3 separate regions of the Homo sapiens genome follow, and regions 1 and 3 are each linked to region 2. The links are contacts of gene promoters, found by promoter capture Hi-C in blood cells and fetal thymus (Javierre and others, 2016). All regions are on one chromosome and are shown on one strand. The core of a region is centred on a gene start or on the middle of the fragment in contact, and the rest is flanking DNA. Distances in the headings are between cores, read along the strand shown. Region 1 overlaps ARNT (aryl hydrocarbon receptor nuclear translocator). Region 2 holds the start of HORMAD1 (HORMA domain containing 1). Region 3 has its middle 10 kb from the start of ENSA.

Region 1 (2,700 bases), core at 34-2,533, 110 kb after region 2:
GAAAAGAGAAAAACCAATGTTTTACACAGAAAGGGAAGAAGACTGCATTTCTCCCCTGTTTTTTGCATAGTTATACTCTTTTTATCCAGAAAAATAGTATTCCTTGATGCTACATAGAGGTATGAAAGATCACATACTTTAACTGTGTGGCTTATATAGTATATAGACTAAGTAGTTCAAATGTCATTACTACTTCAGTTAAATTTTTTTAAATTACATTAATTACTTTTATTGGGTTACCTGCCATATGCCAGGCACTGGGCTGGATGCTTTCCTTACATTAAATCTAATCCTCACAAAAACCCTATACAGGATGTACTAACTCTGAATTACAGATGAGAAAACTGAGCTTTATAAAGGTCAAGCAACTTACCCTAGGTGATGCCACTAATAAGTAACAATGACAGGAATCACATCCAGGTTTCTCCACATCCAAAGTTTAACCTTTTTCCAAAACACATCACCTTGCTTCTCTTTTCTCTTAGTTTCTGTCTCCCCAAAACCCCTACTTTCCAATAATACCCAGGCAGCAGGGAAGTAATAAAGTTGCTAAGATTTGGAAACTCTGACAAGCCAACTTAAAACTTTGATCCTGCAACCCAATCACCTTTCTCACATTCCTTGTTTGACCTCAAGTTCTGGTAAAGCTAATCTGCTCAAAGCTTGATTTAAAGTCTTTGCAGAGAATATCCTCTTGATAAGTTATTACAATAAAGGCATTTTCCCCTTTTCTCTCAAAGTCTTGTTCCTACTTTAGAAATCTTTCTCAAATTAACTGCATTCAATGTCTAAGTTTCTTTGCAACAAATGCTTAGAATACATATGTTCAGTATAAATTTGTTCACATAAAAACCACATTCTGTGACACAGCCAATACTGAATCATTTTCCAGCCTGAGTTATCTATCTCCTCAACTGGAATAAAAGCTCAATAATGGAAGGGAAGGATTGTACATTTTCTTTTCCTATTTTCTTTCATCTTACACAAAAGTACATTTCATATACCAGGTATATAATAAATATTAGCTTTCATGGACTCTGTGAGGAACCAACTGTACCAAGGGGAAATATTTACTATTTCACTTTCTTACCTGCTGGGGGCCAGGCCTTGATGTAGCCTGTGCAGTGGACCACCACGAAGTGAGGTTCCCCATCCTTTACAGAGCCAAGTCCATTCCTAGAAGAGTTACAGGAGTTTGAAAAAAAAAAAAAAAATCTACCCGTAAAACTCAAAGGGCAATGCTGCCTTAGTACTTTTAAGTTTATGCTCTTAGGAGTTTAGAAAACAGGATAATCATCTTTCCCACCCAAAAATGACCGCCACATTTTTACCCTTGCCAAAGTAAAGTAACCAAAAGGTATGCAGTAGGAGGAAAGTAGGTAAAATAGCATAGCGACTTCCTTAAACAGGATTTTCAAGAGAAGTTTTAGAAGTTTAGGAAAATATTGCCAGAAAAAAAGTAAGTGGGAGGTAAGGGATGTTAAGTGGGAGGTAAGGGATGCAAGTGAGAGCTGCTGAAGGAACGACTACAGTAAGACAGGTAAAAATGTGATGATCTCTGCAGGTATTTGGCCATCCCTTTGGTTTTCACCACTTAGGATCTCACCTGCATCTGTTCCTCACAAAGCTCAGCCTATTCACAGAAACTGGGTCCACAGAGCTACTGCCACACCTGTTTCAAGGAATAAAGAGATTAAAAGCAATCAGACTGCCCTATCAAAGAACTTTCCACAGTAATAGCAGAATAACATGCTCTGGATACAACCAGACATAGAAAATTGGTAATGCTACTAATAATGAAGGATAAAGATAGGTCAAGTTTAGTATTTCTAAAACTTTTAGAATTTGAAGTCAAAATGTTCCATATGTTCTTCATATGCAAACATTCTCAACATCAAGAGTTGGCAAGCTTTTTCTGTAAAGGACCAGATAGTACATATTTTCAGCTTTGCGGGCCAGAAAGTCTGTTGCAACTAGTCAACTCTAGCATTATAGCATGAAAATAGCCATAGATAATATGTAAAAATATGGGCATGGCTATGTTCCAATAAAACTTTATTTACAAATAAAGGGCTGTGGTTTGCTTACTCCTGCTCTACATTAACCACAACTTAATGTAATTGCTACAGTTCATTATTATCTTGCTCTTGCCTATGTCTTTGCATTAGCCATGTCCACATATTGGGATACTCCTGCCAATGCTACTTTCCCTCTCCCTATCCTTTAAAACAAAAATAAAACTTACATAGGGTTAATATGTGTCATGCTCTGTTCTAAATATCTTTACATATATTAATTCATCTAATCTTCATAACAACTTTATAAAGTCAGTATTAACATTATCGCCAATGTGAGATGATGAAATCAAAGCACAATGTAGTCATGTAATCATCCAAGGTTTCAGAAGATAGCATCAAAGCTAGAATTCAAATCCATAGAATATGGATTAAAACAAAATCCAGCAGTCTGGGTCTAGAAGCTACTCTAAATTACACGCTGGGTGCAGTGGTTCAGGCCTGTAATCTCAGCACTTTGGGAGGCTGACGCAGGCGAATCACTTGAGGTCAAGAGTTTGAGGCCAGCCTGGCCAACATGGTGAAACACTGTTTTACTAAAAATACAAAAATTAGCCAGCTGTGGTGGCAATCCAGCTACTCAGGAAACTGAGGCATGAGAATCGCTTGAACCCAGGAGGTAGAG
Region 2 (2,700 bases), core at 165-2,664:
TCCTCTGCAACTGGGCAGTGGCCATCTTCTTCTGATAAAGTATTTTCTTTAATTCAACCTTGTGACACAAATACAAGCTTTAACTTAGAGCTCATTTTTTTCCTCTAACATTTCAGTTTACCACATATAAAATTCAAAACAATTTTATGTGAATAAATTTGAATTTCTTTAATTAAAATAGAGTCTTCAAAAACGTAGAGGTCGATATTGCAGTAGAACCATTTTGAGTAGGGTCCTGATTTGAAGCCATTTGACTAGCAAGTCTCAAACAAATGGGTTATTAAGAAACTGTTTAAGAGAACTTTTTAAAAAGGCACAATCTTCCTATTTTTATTCCCTATACAAATTCAAACAATGACAACATTGTACAGGTAGGTATTCAGTAATGAAAAATTGCCTGGCAAACCCTCTAAACTTTTTCAGTTTTATTTGTTTTTATTTTTCATTTTTTTGAGACGGAGTTTCGCTCTGTCGCCAGGCTGGAGTGCAGTGGCGCGATCTCAGCTCACTGCAAGCTCCGCCTCCCGGGTTCAAGCGATTCTCCTGCCTCAGCCTCCCGAGTAGCTGGGACCACAGGTGCCCACCATATATATATATACAATTTTTTTTTTCGAGACGGTGTCTCTCTCTGTTGCCCAGGCTGGAGTGTAATGGCGCGATCTCGGCTCACCGCAACCTCCCCCTCTGGGTTCAAGTGATTCTCCTGCCTGAGCCTCCTGAGTAGCTGGGACTCCAGGCGTGCCACCACGCCCAGCTAATTTTTGTATTTCTAGTAGACACGGGGTTTCACCATGTTGGCCAGGAAACTCCTGACCTCGTGATCCGCCCGCCTCGGCCCCCAAGGTGTTGGGATTATAGGCGTGAAGCACCGTGCCCGGCCGCTAATTTTTTTTTCTATTTTTAGTGGAGACGGGGTTTCGCCATGTTGGTCAGGCTGGTCTCAAATGATCCTCCGGCCTCAGCCGCCCAACTTGCTGGGATTACAGGAAGTTGTGTGTCCGGAACCACTGTGTCCGGCCCCAGTTTCACTTTTCTTAATCAGACAATTCAGCTGGAAGAGTTTACTAAAGAGGCAAACTTCATAGAAGAACCTATTTACGTTAAACGTTTAAATTTATCCTGACAAATCCTGAATTCGCCGTCCGTACTCACCCCATCTCAAGAACCTCTGTTGACAAGTAAGTGGGTATACATTTTTACCGCAAATGTTTTACCACTAAGACCTTAAGAAACTTAAAAGTAGGGGGAAGCTGACAGACAAAGAGATTAAAAAGTAAAATATACGCACACACACACAGATATATACACACTAATATATATTACATTACGTCTGAGGGGCGGGCGCCGGAGACCAGAAGAGCTGCACGAGGCTGCACGCGCTGTGCCCGACGCGCATGCGCTTTCCTTCAACGGTCACCCGCTGGGGCGCGACAGTGGCTTTTTGACCCCTGGTCGAGGTCACCTTTCCCGCCAAGCGCAGCGCAAGGCGCACTGGGAGCCTCAGACACGGGAAGCCTCAGCGCCACGTCTCAGGCAGTGGAAAAGCCAGACAGAAGGGGGAAGGTTAAGTAACTGCATGTGCAGTTACTGAATTTCTGATTGTTTTTCTGACTTTTGATTTTCTTTCTTTTTTTTTTTTTTTTTTTTTTGAGACGGAGTTTTGCTCTTGTCGTCCAGGCTGAAGTGCAGTGGCATGATCTTGGCTCACTGCAACCTCTGCCTCCAGGGTTCAAGCAATTCTCCTGCCTCAGCCTCCCAAGTAGCTGGGATTACAGGCGTCCGCCACCATGCCCAGCTAATTTTTGTATTTTTAGTAGAGACGGGGTTTTGCCATGTTGGCCAAGCTGGTCTCAAACTCCCGACCTCAGGTGACCTGCCTCCCTCGGCCTCCCAAAGTGCTGGGATTACAGGCGTGAGCCACCACACCCGGCTGACTTTTGATTTTCTCATTGGAACTACCACAAATTGCATTCCCACCTTCCAATCTCCTGTATCTTCAGGAAACCATTTGCTTTAGCAGTCTTCTACTTAGCCACTTCCACTGTGTTATGTCATTGGGGACAATGGATAGCTTTGAATGTAATTTGTCTCATTTAGAAACAAAATAAAATCAGAGTGGGTAGGTATTAATAGTTGGAGATTATTCAGTAGTACAAGCTTCTTAGTTTACAGATTATTATATATCCAAATACATTTCTTACCAGTGTAAACATTCAATTACAGGCATACCTTGGAGATATTGCAAGTTCAGTTCCAGACCCTCCAATAAAGCAAACAACATAATAAAGCAAATTACACAATTTTTTAGTTTTCCATGTGTATAAAAGTTATGTTGGCTAGATGTGGTGGCTCATGCCAATAATCCCAGCACTTTGGGAGGCTGAGGCGGAACAATTGCTTGAGGCCAGAAATTGGGGATCAGCTTGGGCAACAAAGTGAGACCCTGTCTCTACAAAAAATAAAAAAAATTAGGCAGAGGTTGTGGCACACACCTGTAGTCTCAGCTACTCAGGAGGCTTAGGCAGGAGGATCCCTTGAGCCCAGGAGTTTGCAGTGGCAGTGAGCCCTGTTTGAGCCACTGCACTCCTGCCTAGGCGGCAGTGAGACTTGTTTCAAAAAAAAAAAATTATGGTTACACTATTAATATCTTAATATATATATATAAATTTTTTTTTTTGAGACGGAGTCTTGCTCTGTCTG
Region 3 (2,700 bases), core at 1-2,500, 81 kb before region 2:
AGCAAACTAAGAGTATAATTGGATTGTTGGAAACATAAAGGATAGATGTTTGAGGTGATGAATACTGTATTTACTCTGATGTAATTATTACACATTGCATGCCTATATCAAACATCTCATGTAACCCATAAATATATACACCCACTATGTATCCACAAAAATTAAAAAAGAGCCCGGGCATGGTGGCTCACATCTGTAATCCCAGCACTTTGGGAGGCCAAGGCGGGCGGATCACCTGGGGTCGGGAGTTCGAGACCAGCCCGACCAACACGGAGAAACCCTGTCTCTACTAAAAAATACAAAATTAGCCGGGCGTGGTGGCGCATGCCTCTAATCCCAGCTACCCGGGAGGCTGAGGCAGGAGAATCACTGGAACCTGGGAGGCGGAGGTTGTGGTGAGCTGAGATCGTGCCATGGCACTCCAGCCTGGGCAATAAGAGCAAAACTCCGTCTCAAAAAAAAAAAAAAATTAAAAAAGAAATGCATTCTTATGTTATACCAAAACACATATTCATAGTAGTTCTATTTATAGTTGCCCCAAACTAGGTCAATCAAATCTTCAAAAAAAGTAAAATAGTTAATTCATGGTCACAAAACATACATATTTCATAATTTCATTTGTATAAACCTCAAAAGCAAAACCAATCTATGGTATTTCAAGTCAAGATTGTGGTTACCTTTAAGGGAGAAAATAGCAACTGGGAAAAGGTATGAGGGGGGATTCTAGGGTGCTGGTAACGATCTGTTTCTTGATTTGGGTGCTGGCTATATATGTTCACTATTCATTTTTTAAAAATAGACACAGAGTCTCACTATGTTGCCCAGGCTGGTCTTAAACTCTTGGCCTCAAGCAGTCCTCCCACCTCGGCCTCCCAAAGTGCTTGGATTACGGGAGTGAGCCACCATTCCCAGCTAGCCACCTCATTTAAAATAGTATTACTTGGCCGGGTGCAGTGGCTGACGCCTGTAATTCCAGCACTTTGGGAGGCCGAGGCGGGTTGGGATCAAGCCAGCCTGGCGAACATGGTGAAACCTCAACTCTCCTAAAATTACAAAATTAGTAATCGAGACCATTCTGGGTAACATGGTGAAATCCCATCTCTACTAAAAATACAAAAAATTAGCTGGGCATGGTGGCGGGCGCCTGTAGTCCCAGCTACTCGGGAGGCTGAGGCAGGAGAATGGCGTGAACCCAGGAGGCGGAGCTTGCAGTGAGCTGAGATGGCGCCACTGCACTCCAGCCTGGGTGACAGAGTGAGACTCCGTCTCAAAAACAAAAAACAAAAAACAAAACAAACAAACAAAAAACAAAAAAAATTAGGCTGGGCGCAGTGGCTCATGCCTGTAATCCCAGCACTTTGGGAGGCTGATGTGGGCGGATCACCTGAGGTCAGGAGTTCAAGACCAGCCTTACCAACATGGAGAAACCCCGTCTCTACTAAAAATACAAAAAAAATTAGCCAGGCATGGTGGCATATGCCTGTAATCCCAGCTGTCAGGCCTCTGAGCCCAAACCAAGCCATCGCATCCCCTGTGACTTGCACGTATACACCCAGATGGCCTGAAGTAACTGAAGATCCACAAAAGAAGTAAAAATAGCCTTAACTGATGACATTCCACCATTGATTTGTTCCTGTCCCACCCTAACTGATCAATGTACTTTGTAATCTCCCCCACCCTTAAGAAAGTTCTTTGTAATTCTCCCCACCCTTGAGAATGTACTTTGTGAGATCCACCCCTGCCCGCAAAACATTGCTCTCAACTTCACCGCCTATCCCAAAACCTATAAGAATTAATGATAATCCATCTCCCTTCGCTGACTCTCTTTTCGGCACCCAGGTGAAATAAATACCCATGTTGCTCACACAAAGCCTGTTTGGTGGCCTCTTCACACGGACGCACATGAAACCAGCTACTTGGGAGGCTGAGGCAGGAGAATTGCTTGAACCCGGGAGGCGGAGGTTGCGGTGACCCGAGATCACGCCATTGCACTCCTGCCTGGGCAACAAGAGCAAAATTCCGTCTCAGGGAAAAAAAAAAAATTAGCTGGGTGTGGTGGGGCAGGCCTGTAATCCCAGCTACTCAGGAGGCTGAGGCAGGAGAATCACTTGAACCTGGGAGGCGGAGGTTGCAGAGTCGAGATCATGCCATTGCCCTCCAGCCTGGGCGACTGAGTGAGACTCCATCTTAAAAAAAAAAAAAAAAAAAGTCTTTTATTACTTTTTGAGCATTTAAAGAGTATTTTTTGGCCAGACGGTGTGGCTCACGCCTGTAATCCCAGTATTTTGGGAGGCCCAGGCGGGTGGATCACTTGAAGCCTCCAGCCTGGCCAACATGGCAGGAGAATGACTGGAACCCGGGAGGTGGATGTTGCAGTGAGCCAAGATGGTGTCACTGCACTCCAGCCTGGGTGACAGAGAGAGACTCTGTCTCAAAGACAAAAAGAAAATTTGTTCAGTATTTTCTTCAATCAGCTTTCTCAGACTGAATGTTCACCCTTTTAAATATTCATAATGTTCCTGAGAATCCATTTGGCTATTCTGTTTTCTTCACCCTTCTCCAGCCTTCCCCTCCTCAATTCGACCCATTTCTTCCCTACTTCCCAAAAGAAAAAATATCTACTTTGGATTAATATAAATCAGTTTAATCTAACTTATTCAAGACTTTTTTGGCCTCTACTTGGAGGTTCAAGAAAAGGTG

Evidence for each region. The method cuts DNA at HindIII sites, captures the fragments that hold promoters and counts their contacts. A CHiCAGO score of 5 or more calls a contact.
Region 1: a fragment that was not itself captured here is called in contact with the fragment with the promoter of HORMAD1 in region 2 in 6 of 17 cell types (M2 macrophages, M1 macrophages, endothelial precursors and 3 more); the score reaches 10.3 in M2 macrophages.
Region 3: a contact is called between a fragment that was not itself captured here and the fragment with the promoter of HORMAD1 in region 2, in 3 of 17 cell types (M2 macrophages, M1 macrophages and endothelial precursors). The highest score is 5.9, in M2 macrophages.

Annotation. Positions count from the first base shown.
Region 1 is chr1:150,830,728-150,833,427 of GRCh38, forward strand. ARNT (aryl hydrocarbon receptor nuclear translocator) reads right to left here. Exons shown (of 22, transcript NM_001668.4): 9 at 1,607-1,672; 10 at 1,091-1,176. Among named protein-coding and RNA genes, the nearest start is that of CTSK, 24 kb to the left of the region's middle. The HindIII fragment of the contact is 1,247 bases long and covers 661-1,907 here.
Region 2 is chr1:150,719,481-150,722,180 of GRCh38, forward strand. It overlaps HORMAD1 (HORMA domain containing 1), which reads right to left and starts at 1,415. Exons shown (of 15, transcript NM_032132.5): 1 at 1,324-1,415; 2 at 1-58. The coding sequence starts at 25. The HindIII fragment of the contact is 2,080 bases long and covers 76-2,155 here.
Region 3 is chr1:150,638,676-150,641,375 of GRCh38, forward strand. No RefSeq gene overlaps it. Among named protein-coding and RNA genes, the nearest start is that of ENSA, 10 kb to the left of the region's middle. RefSeq lists an enhancer at 2,442-2,700. The HindIII fragment of the contact is 4,327 bases long and covers 1-2,700 here.